Regions from separate parts of the Homo sapiens genome. Here region 1 is linked to region 2. Evidence: promoter capture Hi-C in human tissues and cell types (Jung and others, 2019). All regions are on one chromosome and are shown on one strand. The core of a region is centred on a gene start or on the middle of the fragment in contact, and the rest is flanking DNA. Distances in the headings are between cores, read along the strand shown.

Region 1 (5,258 bases), core at 1,429-3,928, 44 kb before region 2:
ATGAATATATCACGATTTGTTTATCCATTCACTGTTTGATGAATATCTGAATTGTCTCCAGCTTTTTGTTATTACAAATAAAACTACAATAAACATTTATATATAATTCTTTTGTAGACATGTGTTTTCATTTCTTACATACAACATAGTAATGAAATTTCTGAATCATACAGTGAATGTGTTAACTTTACAAGAAATCGCCCAATTTTTTCTAAAGTGGTTCTACAACTTTAGAACCACTTTGCAGTTCTACAGTTCTCAGTAGTAATAAATGAGGTTCTAGTTTTTCTTTTCTTTTTTTTTTTGAGATGGAGTTTTGCTCTTGTTGCCCAGGCTGGAGTGCAATGGTGCAATCTCGGCTCACTGCAACCTCTGCCTCTTGGGTTCAAGTGATTCTCCTGCCTCAGCCTCTGGTTGGGGTTCAATCAGGCTGGTGGGAAAAATATTAGAGATAGTGTAGAGATAGACACAAATCTTCTTGGAAGGCCGAGAAGTTTGCATAACTTCTATAATAGATCTGGCTGAAGGTGGCCTGGTCCCTTTATCTTTAGTTAAACAAAATTAAAGTAGTAACAAAGGAAGGCAGAGTAGTTTACCTAGCTAGCTTGTTTACTCATATGATCTTAAGACTAACCTTTATTGTACCACAGGTACTTAAGTGCTTTTTACTCAGGAAGTCCACAATGTCAATTACCCTTTAATGGTGTTAGCTCAAGCCTTTATTAATTAATCTTACCAAATAAATGTGAGTCTCGCTAGCTGATCAGGGCCAAGTCACGACTGTTTACAGGACTCAGCAGGGAGTCTGTAAGCGGCTGAGACACACTCAGCTGGACAGGCAAAGCAGAATATCTGTGTGTCAGTGTACGTTATTCATCCGTCACCGGGTCAGGGGTCTGCAACGGACAGACCCCTCCCCGCAGCTGGCGCCCCCATAAGAGGTGCACTGCCACAGTTGGTGCCCCGTGTGGGAAACTGTGTGATGAGCACTGCCACAGCCTCAAGTACCTGGGATTACAGGCATGTGCCACCATGCTGGGCCAGTTTTTTGTACTTAGTAGAGACAGGGTTTCACCATGTTGGTCAGGCTGGTCTCCAACTGCTGACCTCAGGTGATCCATACACAGGCTGGTCTCCAACTGCTGACCTCAGGTGATCCATACACCTCAGCCTCCCAAAGTGCTGGGATTACAGGTGTGAGCCAGCACTCTCAGCCTGGTTATAGTTTTTCTGCATCTTCACTAACACAGGCTACTGCTAACCTTTTACATTTTGACCATCTTAGTGGTTGTAATTTGTATTTATCTTATGACTAATAATGTTCGGCATCATTCCATGTGCTTCTTGGCCATTAAGATATCTTTTGTGAAGTATGCATTCAAATCTTTTGCTCATTTTTTATTGAGTTTTTGTTATCCTCTTACCATTCAGCTGCAAGAGTTACTTATACATTCTGGACACAAATCATTTGTCATATATGAGTATTGCAAATATTTCATCTGAGTCTGTGGCTTGCTTCTTTGATTCTTAACAGTGTCTTTCGAAAAGCAAAGTTTTAAATTCAATGAAGTCCAATTATTATGACTAATTTTTATGATTAGTGCCTTTTTGTGATCTGTGTAAGAAATCTTTTCTTCTCCAAAGGCCATGAAGACATGAAGACTTTTCTCCTCTGTTTTTTTTTCTAATTTTTTTATAATGTTAGCTTTTTCATTTAGATCTAAAATCTATTTTGAGTTCATTCTTATGTACAACGTACAGGTTGAAGTTCACTTTTTGCATATAGATGCCTAGTTACTCCAGGACCATTTGTTGTTACTGATTTTCAACTTTATTAAATGTGTTTAGAAATCAAACACTATATAATTTGCATCATGAAATCTGGTGAGACTTCCTTTACGTTTCAGCATATAGCCAATTTTTATTGTGCTTGAAATTAGTAAGTATTCTCCAGTTGTTGGCTGCAATATTCTCTACATGTCCTTAGGTAAAATTTGTTGATTGCATTATTCAAGTTTTGTGTATTATTGCTGTTTTATATCTACTTATTTTATCAGCCACTGACAAGTGTGATAAAAATCTGTCAGTATGACTGTGACTCTATTCATTTCTGCCTTTTTGATTCCATATTACTGGATCTATACAAATTGAGAATTTTTATACCTTCTTGGTAAATTGATCCTTCTGGCATTATGAAATTCCTCTTTATCTCTACCAGTCTTTTTGCATTAAAAACAGCATTTTTAATCTTAACATAGCTACATCAAATTTCTTTTGGTTAGAGTTTTCATAGTGTTATCTTTTTTTTTCACCTTTTTATTCTAATCTTTCCACATTCTTGTGTTCTTGATATGTCTCTTGTAACCAACAAGGGTCTTCTTTCATTGCAATTTGAGCCTTTTAATTTGACCATATAGTCCATTTGCATTTGACATAAATACTGATATGTCTAGGAAGCTGTATTAGTTTGCTAGGGCTGCCACAACAAAATACCACAGACCTGACAGCTTAAACAATACATACTTGTTTTCTCATAGTTCTGGAGGCTAGAAGTCCAAATCAAGGCATCAGCTGGGCTGGCTTCTTCTGAGGCATCTCTCCCTGACTTGTAAATGGCTATCTTTTCCCTCTGTCTGCACATGATCTCTGCTCTGTGTCTCTGTATCCTAATATTCTCTTCTTATAGAGAGACCAGTCATTTTGGATCACATTTACCTTAATGATCACATTTAACCTTGATTACTTCTATAAAGGCACTATTTCCAAATAACGGTCACATTCTTAGGTATTGGAGGTTAGAATTTCAATATATGAATTTGGGGAAGAGAAGGGGACATAATTCAGTAGTAAGTATGTCATCAAGCAGATAAAATACCATCTATCATGTGTTTTCTATTTGTTCCATCTGTTCTTTGTTCCTTTTTTGTCTTTTCTCATCTTGTTTCGAATTGATTTCTTTATTATTACATCTTTTCTCTATTAGCATGAAAGTTGTACGTGCATTAACCATTCTTTTAGTGCTACCTGGAAATTATAACATGCATCCTTGGCTTATCAAAGCAGAACATTAATTGGTGTCTTTACCTACTCTCCAGACAAAGACCTTGGAACCCTTTAACTCCATTCAGCCCCATTCTTATTTATGTTTAAATTAGCCTACATTTTAAATCTAAATATATTTTAAATCCCACGATGTGTTATTATTATTGCTTATATAATCAATATGAATTTAAATTCATTCACATCATTGCCTAAAAACAAAAGTTCCTACTTTATTTATCTTTCTTTTGTTGTTCATGAAGTGAAACAACACTTCATTTGTCTCTTATGCTATCCTTGTGCAACATATAAAAACAGATATGTTCATCCTCTGGTGACGTAAGTGGAAGAACGACTAAAATTCCCGACTCTATAGAGTCCTAAGAGAGGAACCTACAGAAGTCAGAGGAAACTTCAATATCAAGAAGTTTGGAAAGAGGTAAATATTATAATACCCCATAAAGACAAAACTTCTGCCAAACTGGATGACATCGGTTCATTTCTGTGATGTTTATTTTGTTTTGTTGAAGAGGAAACTAGATGGGAAAAAAGCAAAGCTGAGAGAAAGGATGAGAGAAACATGCAAGGATTGAGAGAGTGTCTAGAGATGGAAAGAGGAGCTCCATGGAGACCTCCCAAGAGAGTGACCTGGGTGGCATAATAGCAACCAACATGAGTTGGAACTCAGAAACTGGTAGATGTTTGTCATTCCCAACCATAGGTCCTGGATTAAAGGAGCCCAGAAAATCATAGCAGAAGCCCAGATATCACACAAGTGACAGCAGAGCAGGCATCCTCCATGTTTATGAACTTCCTAGTAATACGATTCAGCTTAGAGCGCTGTAAATATTGTCAGTCCCTGCTCTTGGGCTTGTGAAAACCTGTCTGGAGCTTTGCAACTTGTGACTATTCAGACTCAATTAATGGAAATGAGCTGTGTTTTTAGGGTGAAAATATCCTTTCCTTTGCCAGCTTCCGAACCATGTGTCTTGCATTTTGAGACGAATCCAGTTGCGATGTTGACAGGTGCAGACTAACTACTCTTTCCACAACAAGCATTTGGAAACATTTTCCTGGTGGTCATGCTGCAAGTCTTGTGTATTAAAACTAGGGCATCAGGTTTGCTAAGTCAGCACACTCAACATAAGATATGTTAGAGACATAACTTCTGAGGTGAAGGGAATGATGGCAAATTTACATCAGAAGCTTTGTCTGCTGGTCCTTAAGATCAGTTGACTAATGGTCTTTGCCTCTGGGGTTTTTTCCATGCTCAGAAATAAGGACAAAGAAAAGACCTACTTAAAGATAACTAAAATGAGGAAATTTTCAGAAAATTGACTCTTTTTATATGATTGTTATTATAAGTTAACATTCATTCTGCTTGCCATGAGCCAGGCACTCATTATACTTAGCTCTTAGTGTGCATTACATCACCTTATTCAAATCTTACAGCAATCCTACCATATAGACACCACTGTTATTCCCATTGCAATAATTGGGAAGGTTTAGTAGCTTGCCCAAGTCAACTATGTGGAAGTGCCAAAGCCAGGAATCAAATGTGGCTTTCTTACTCTGAAAATAATGTCCTTAACAACTCCAATAAACTACACATTAAAATGAGCTTACCACCAGTATTATATCAACAATCGAGTTAATCACCATTACTATGTCTCATCTCACTAAAAACTTGCATATAGATGCATCTGCGCTGGATCTAATCGCCAAATGTCTGGTTCACCAAAGTGGTTTGTATCCAACTTTATGTGCCCTCTGAACTCAGTTGCATATGATGGGCAACAGTAAAAGCCACACTTTCAAAACCACGATGCAGCAAAGTTCTCAGGTGTGCTTCATTATCCTCCTTCCTTCTCCTCTAGCTCCGAATCTTCCACCTCTCCCAGTTCCATACTTCTTTGCCAGAGGCTGAGTGAACCATAGCAGAGAAGGACAAGTACAAGGAAGAGCATTTAGGAGAATGATCTATCATTTAAACAGGTGCAGCATGGAAAAAGAATAGAAACGTACATAGATCTGCACAAATTGCATGGCAATTCATCTGGGACATTAGATTTTGTAGCAAAGTGATATTTTTTAAATATGTATCTATGGTATCTCTTTTTTGGCCTTTTCTCCATTTTTAACAGCAAAGCTAATTTATGTTTATTGGTTAGGGCATAAGGTTGAGCTTAAAGAAGGAAGCAGAGAAACAAACAATATTT
Region 2 (5,014 bases), core at 215-2,714:
AGCAGTCTCTAACCAAGCCTAGTGTACTACAGGAACTAATAAGTAATCATAATGATAGCAAACACATATTTCACACTTATTTAGGATGAGTTAGGAGCTCTTCTAAGTAATTTATACATAGTCAAGTGCCACATAACATTTTAGTCAATGCAACAGTGGTCCCATAAGATTACAATACTGTATTTTTACTGTATGTTTCCTATGTTTAGACACACAAGTACTCACCACTGTGTTACAACTCCCTACAGCATTCAGTAGTCGCATGCTGTACAGGTTTGTACCTAGGATCAACAGGCTATGCCATGTAGCCTCCGTGTGTAGTAGGCTGAACCATCTAGGTTTGTGTAAGTACACCCTGATGTTCACACACACAGGAAAATTGCCTAAGGATGCATTTCTCAGACGTGACACATAATTGTACTTCAATTCATTTAAGTCTCATAATAACCTTAGGAGGTAGGTTCCATCATTATCTTCATTTACATTTGAGGAGACTGCAAAGTCCCGAAGAAATCTTACACTGAACCACGGGGAAAAGAACTCTGGTCTGAACCCACAAGTCAAAGTATGTCTGAGGGTTCTCAATTCCAGCAAGGGAAGGGAGGGGGTTAAAGAGTAGAACTAACTTACATGGGAAGCTTTGCTGCCTGGGCAAGCAGCTTCTGGTGGATTTCCTGAAATTCAGCAGGGTGGGGCCGCCTCTCCAATCAGACTTCACTTTACTATACTATGGGGTCATTAAATAGAGGAGCCAGGAGTTCAGGACTCCCTCCCTCTTCTTCAAAAGGAAAACTGGGTGTGGGGAGGGTACATTACCTCACAGAATATTGGAGAAAGCCTAAATGTGTCCTCCAGTGATTCATTTGGGTGGACTACTTTCACACCAAGCTAAACTCAAAAGTTCGGAGTGGGGTCATCAGGGCCCCTCCCTCCCTGAGTGCAAGAAACATTTCCTCTTTTTAAAGTACAGGCAGAGTTGGAATCAAACTCCTTCCAAACAGGAAATCAGCAAGATTCTAGGTAAAACTGATACCTTACTTTTAAAGGTCAAGCTCTTTCCTTCACCAAGAGCGTGTTTCCTGAGCACCTACTATGTGCCAGGCATGTGGTAGGTAGTTGTTATGAATCTTGATGTGCCCTGCGCTCTGCAGGGGGGCGGAGGTGGAAGGGAACACAAAGAAAGAACAGATACCAACACTGCCACCCCCGCCTCCCCCCACCCCCCCCCACACACTCATTTGGCAAAGCTTACAGGAAAAAAAGGGTTTTAGGGGGCTTGTGGTGGTTTTTTTTTCCCTAAAAATAATAGAAATGGTAAAAAGAGGCTTCGGACCCCTCGCGTGAGTCCCTTAAAGTGACTGGATTGAGACCTGGGCAGGGAAAGTGGGAGGCCCGAGCGAGGGGGAGGGCGCAGGCAGTGGGTGGGTGACAAGGTGCAAGGGCAGCGCCGGCTTCGGATCGGGAGTTGGCCGTCAGCTGCGCCAGAGGCAGGTGCCAGCGGAGAGTGGGTGGGGGTGCCGGCGCCAGGCCAGGCTCGGGGAGGCCCCGCGCTACCTCTGCCTCTAGGAGTCCAGGCGCACAGACAAGCTCCCCGGAGCCGCTCCTGCTTCGCCAACTCCCCACTCGCGCCGCCCGTGCCAGCCGCCGGCACTGGCGTCTCCGCCGCCCGCAGGAGGAGTCGCGGGAGCACTAGCAGCCGCCGCCGAGCGACAGCATCCTCAGGAGAGACGCCCCGGGCTTTGCAGCCGGCGGCCTCCGTCCGCCCTCCGCGGTCGCCCCCCGCCCCGTCGCCCGTCCGCCCGCGGTGGCAGCCGGCGCCGGCGCCCCGGGGCCCTTCACCTGCCGCGAGCGTCCGGGCGGGCGGGCGCACGGGAGAAAAGGCGCAAGAAGCGGGCACCCCGGGAACCCCATTCCCTCGGCTCACTCGGCGCGGAGAAGCGACGCCCGCTGACTCCGAGAGCCCCGGTGCTCCGTGCACCTGGTCCCCAAGTTGAGGAGCGACACCCCTCCACAGGGGACTAGCCCGCGCGGGGAGCATTCCGGTCTCACTGACCCCGGCCCACCCGCGGGACTCCAGGCACCTCTTCTGCCCGCACCCCGCGACCCCTCCCGGGACCCCGGAGACAGCCGGCCTGCCCCCGGCGTCCCCCTTGGCCAGCACGCCATGCCGGGGCTGCGCCGGGACCGCCTACTGACTCTGCTGCTGCTGGGCGCGCTGCTCTCCGCCGACCTCTACTTCCACCTCTGGCCCCAAGTACAGCGCCAGCTGCGGCCTCGGGAGCGCCCGCGGGGGTGCCCGTGCACCGGCCGCGCCTCCTCCCTGGCGCGGGACTCGGCCGCAGCTGCCTCGGACCCCGGCACGATCGTGCACAACTTTTCCCGAACCGAGCCCCGGACTGAACCGGCTGGCGGCAGCCACAGCGGGTCGAGCTCCAAGTTGCAGGCCCTCTTCGCCCACCCGCTGTACAACGTCCCGGAGGAGCCGCCTCTCCTGGGAGCCGAGGACTCGCTCCTGGCCAGCCAGGAGGCGCTGCGGTATTACCGGAGGAAGGTGGCCCGCTGGAACAGGTGAGGACCCCGCCCGGGACGCGGGAGAGCGGGCGCTCTGGCCGGGGCCTCCCCGCGCCCCAGTCTCGAGTTTCCTGACGCCCCCGGCCCAGGGCTGCAGCGGCTCCACCCACGGCTCCAGCCCTGGCGCTGGGCTTAGAGTGTGTTCCCCACCCGAACCCCACCAGCTGTTGCAGACCTCACAGTCCAGTCCCGGAGTCAGATAGTACGAGGAAAAAGTTTCTATTGCAGCCGCACAGCGAAGAAACGCTCTCAGCCCCTTCCCCTTGAGCGCCTGGGTCGTCGTTGAGCCCCACTCCTGCTCCCTCGTCCACTCCCGCTCCCTCGTCCGCTCCCAAACCCCACTCTCTGTCCTGATGTGGAGGAAAGCTGCCGCTGGACTTCGGGTTTCCAGAATGAGGCCCCAAACAGGGTGACTCCAGAGCTAGTTGAAATTCAGCACTTAACTGTGCTCTTTGGGTAAACCTGGGCGCCTTCCAGAAAGCATGTTTCTCCCCAAAACCCAGTTCTTTCCCTTTCCTTATTCCTCTGCCCAGTTTCAGAGATCACAAGGGGGTCATCTGAGGCAGGAAGTAAATGGTCAGTTCTCTGCCGCAGCCACCCCATTGTTCACATTTAAAACGCGGCTTGGGCCCATCCAGCAAGTATTAGAACTTGAAGGCACTTTTATCGTCTTGTATGATCCTGGTGATTTGGACTGACTTGGATCTGCGGCTTGATGCTTCCACAGACGAGAAAAAAATCTTTCAGGGAATTTTTTAAACCCAAAGCAAAATACAGAGGAAAAAATATCAAATATATTTAGGATAAAATTAAGAATCTTTCTGGAAAAGGATGGGGGTGTTAGGGAAGGCAGCACGCTCATTACTGAGATCCCTTGCTAGTGGCAGGAAGCCTTCGTATGAGTTAAGGACTCTGTTTTGAAGTACAGAACTTGTCTAAATACCACTCACATGCAGAGTTCACTATCGCACCACACCCATCTCTTTACTTAATACAAGAGATTTCAAAGTAAGATGTCATCGGTGGTTTTATGGTCCCTCCAGAGGATGAGCAGACCATAAATCTCTCTTGAAACTCAGAGCTGGGCCAATTTAACTGTTTGCTCATTATTTTGTAATGCTGAGATTGAAGGGAGAAAAAAAAACCTTCAGAAATTTTTGCAAAGGAATAAGTTGAGTTGTTGGCTGAATCACTGTGGTGAATTTCAGTAGTAACTCTACGGCTCACATTTTATGTTAGAAAGAAAGTGATTCTCAATTCCACGTTAACTGTGTGCAGTAATAAAAGGCAGTTTGAGATTGCTTCTCAGACACTGTCATTTTCAATATTATCTTTATTTCGTCAATAACATGGAAGTCTGGCTTAGTGAACCAGGAAATTTTGCCCTTAGAAAAAGTATCTATATGTCTACTATGGATCTGAGAATGAGAGACTTTGGACAAAGTCACTTGCTTTTGTAAATGTGATCAGCATTCATTTAGTCACATTTCTGTGGTCTTAAACTTCCCGGTGTTACTTTGGACCCGAAGCAAAGTCCAGGGGAATATTATGGCAGAAAAGCAAAAATCTTTCTCACCAAACTGTTCTACAATCAGTTTTAAGCTTGATTTCTACACCATTATGTGTCAACAAAGACAAAAAAAACTCGCAAAAACACACATACTTTCTGACCAGAAATGATCTTGGTCATTTAACAGAAGATCAAGTGGGGGCTGGTGACCTTACTATATTCAGAGATCACAGAGTAGTTTTGTGTGGTTGCTCAAATGTGACATTTTCCCAAGTAAGGTTTGTGGGCCACAACAGGAGGACCCGCTGCACTTATAAATGTTAAAACTGGACCTCAGAGGCAGAGAACACTCTCCTTCCACCCAAACTGGATAGTAAATGTTAACATGAACATATTAATAAGCAGATGTGTTGTTACTTATATCAGGGTTAAAAATGAAACACAAGGCCGGGCAGGGTGGCTCACACCTGTAATCGCAACATTTTGGGAGGCAGAGGCAGAGGGAGGATCACTTGAGCCCAGGAGTTCAAGATGAGCTTGGGCAACATAGTAAGATGTCGTCTCAAAAAACAAACAAAAAAAATAGCCAGTGGTGACACATACCTGTAGTCCTAGTCACTTGAGGGACTGAGACAGAAGGATTGCTTGAGCCCAGAAGGTTGAGGCTGCAGTGAGCCATGACTGTGCCACTGCACTCCAGCTTAGGTGACAGTGAAACCTTGCCTCAGAAAAAAAAAAAAAAAAAACCATACAGAAGATTCATTAGCCAGGGTGAATTTGAGCCACACTCAGAGTTCTATTGTGAAAGGGAGTCACTCATTACCTTAAATGAGAGTGCTCCCTGCCAAATATGAGGATGTAGCAGTGCTGATGAAGACAGGGGGCCTGCCATTATGTGCAGGGTCGAGGACACCCCTAGATCCTAGCAGCAGA

The links. The method cuts DNA at HindIII sites, captures the fragments that hold promoters and counts their contacts. A contact is called where the count stands out against the background at its distance.
Region 1: a fragment that was not itself captured here is called in contact with the fragment with the promoter of FAM20A in region 2 in 2 of the 25 tissues and cell types used here (neural progenitor cells and thymus).

The regions. Positions count from the first base shown.
Region 1 is chr17:68,642,824-68,648,081 of GRCh38, reverse strand. The region is part of intron 2 of LINC01482 (long intergenic non-protein coding RNA 1482); the gene reads right to left. Among named protein-coding and RNA genes, the nearest start is that of LINC01482, 17 kb to the right of the region's middle. The HindIII fragment of the contact is 6,803 bases long and covers 1-5,258 here.
Region 2 is chr17:68,597,817-68,602,830 of GRCh38, reverse strand. FAM20A (FAM20A golgi associated secretory pathway pseudokinase) reads left to right here and starts at 1,464. Exons shown (of 11, transcript NM_017565.4): 1 at 1,464-2,568. The coding sequence starts at 2,165. The HindIII fragment of the contact is 4,098 bases long and covers 944-5,014 here.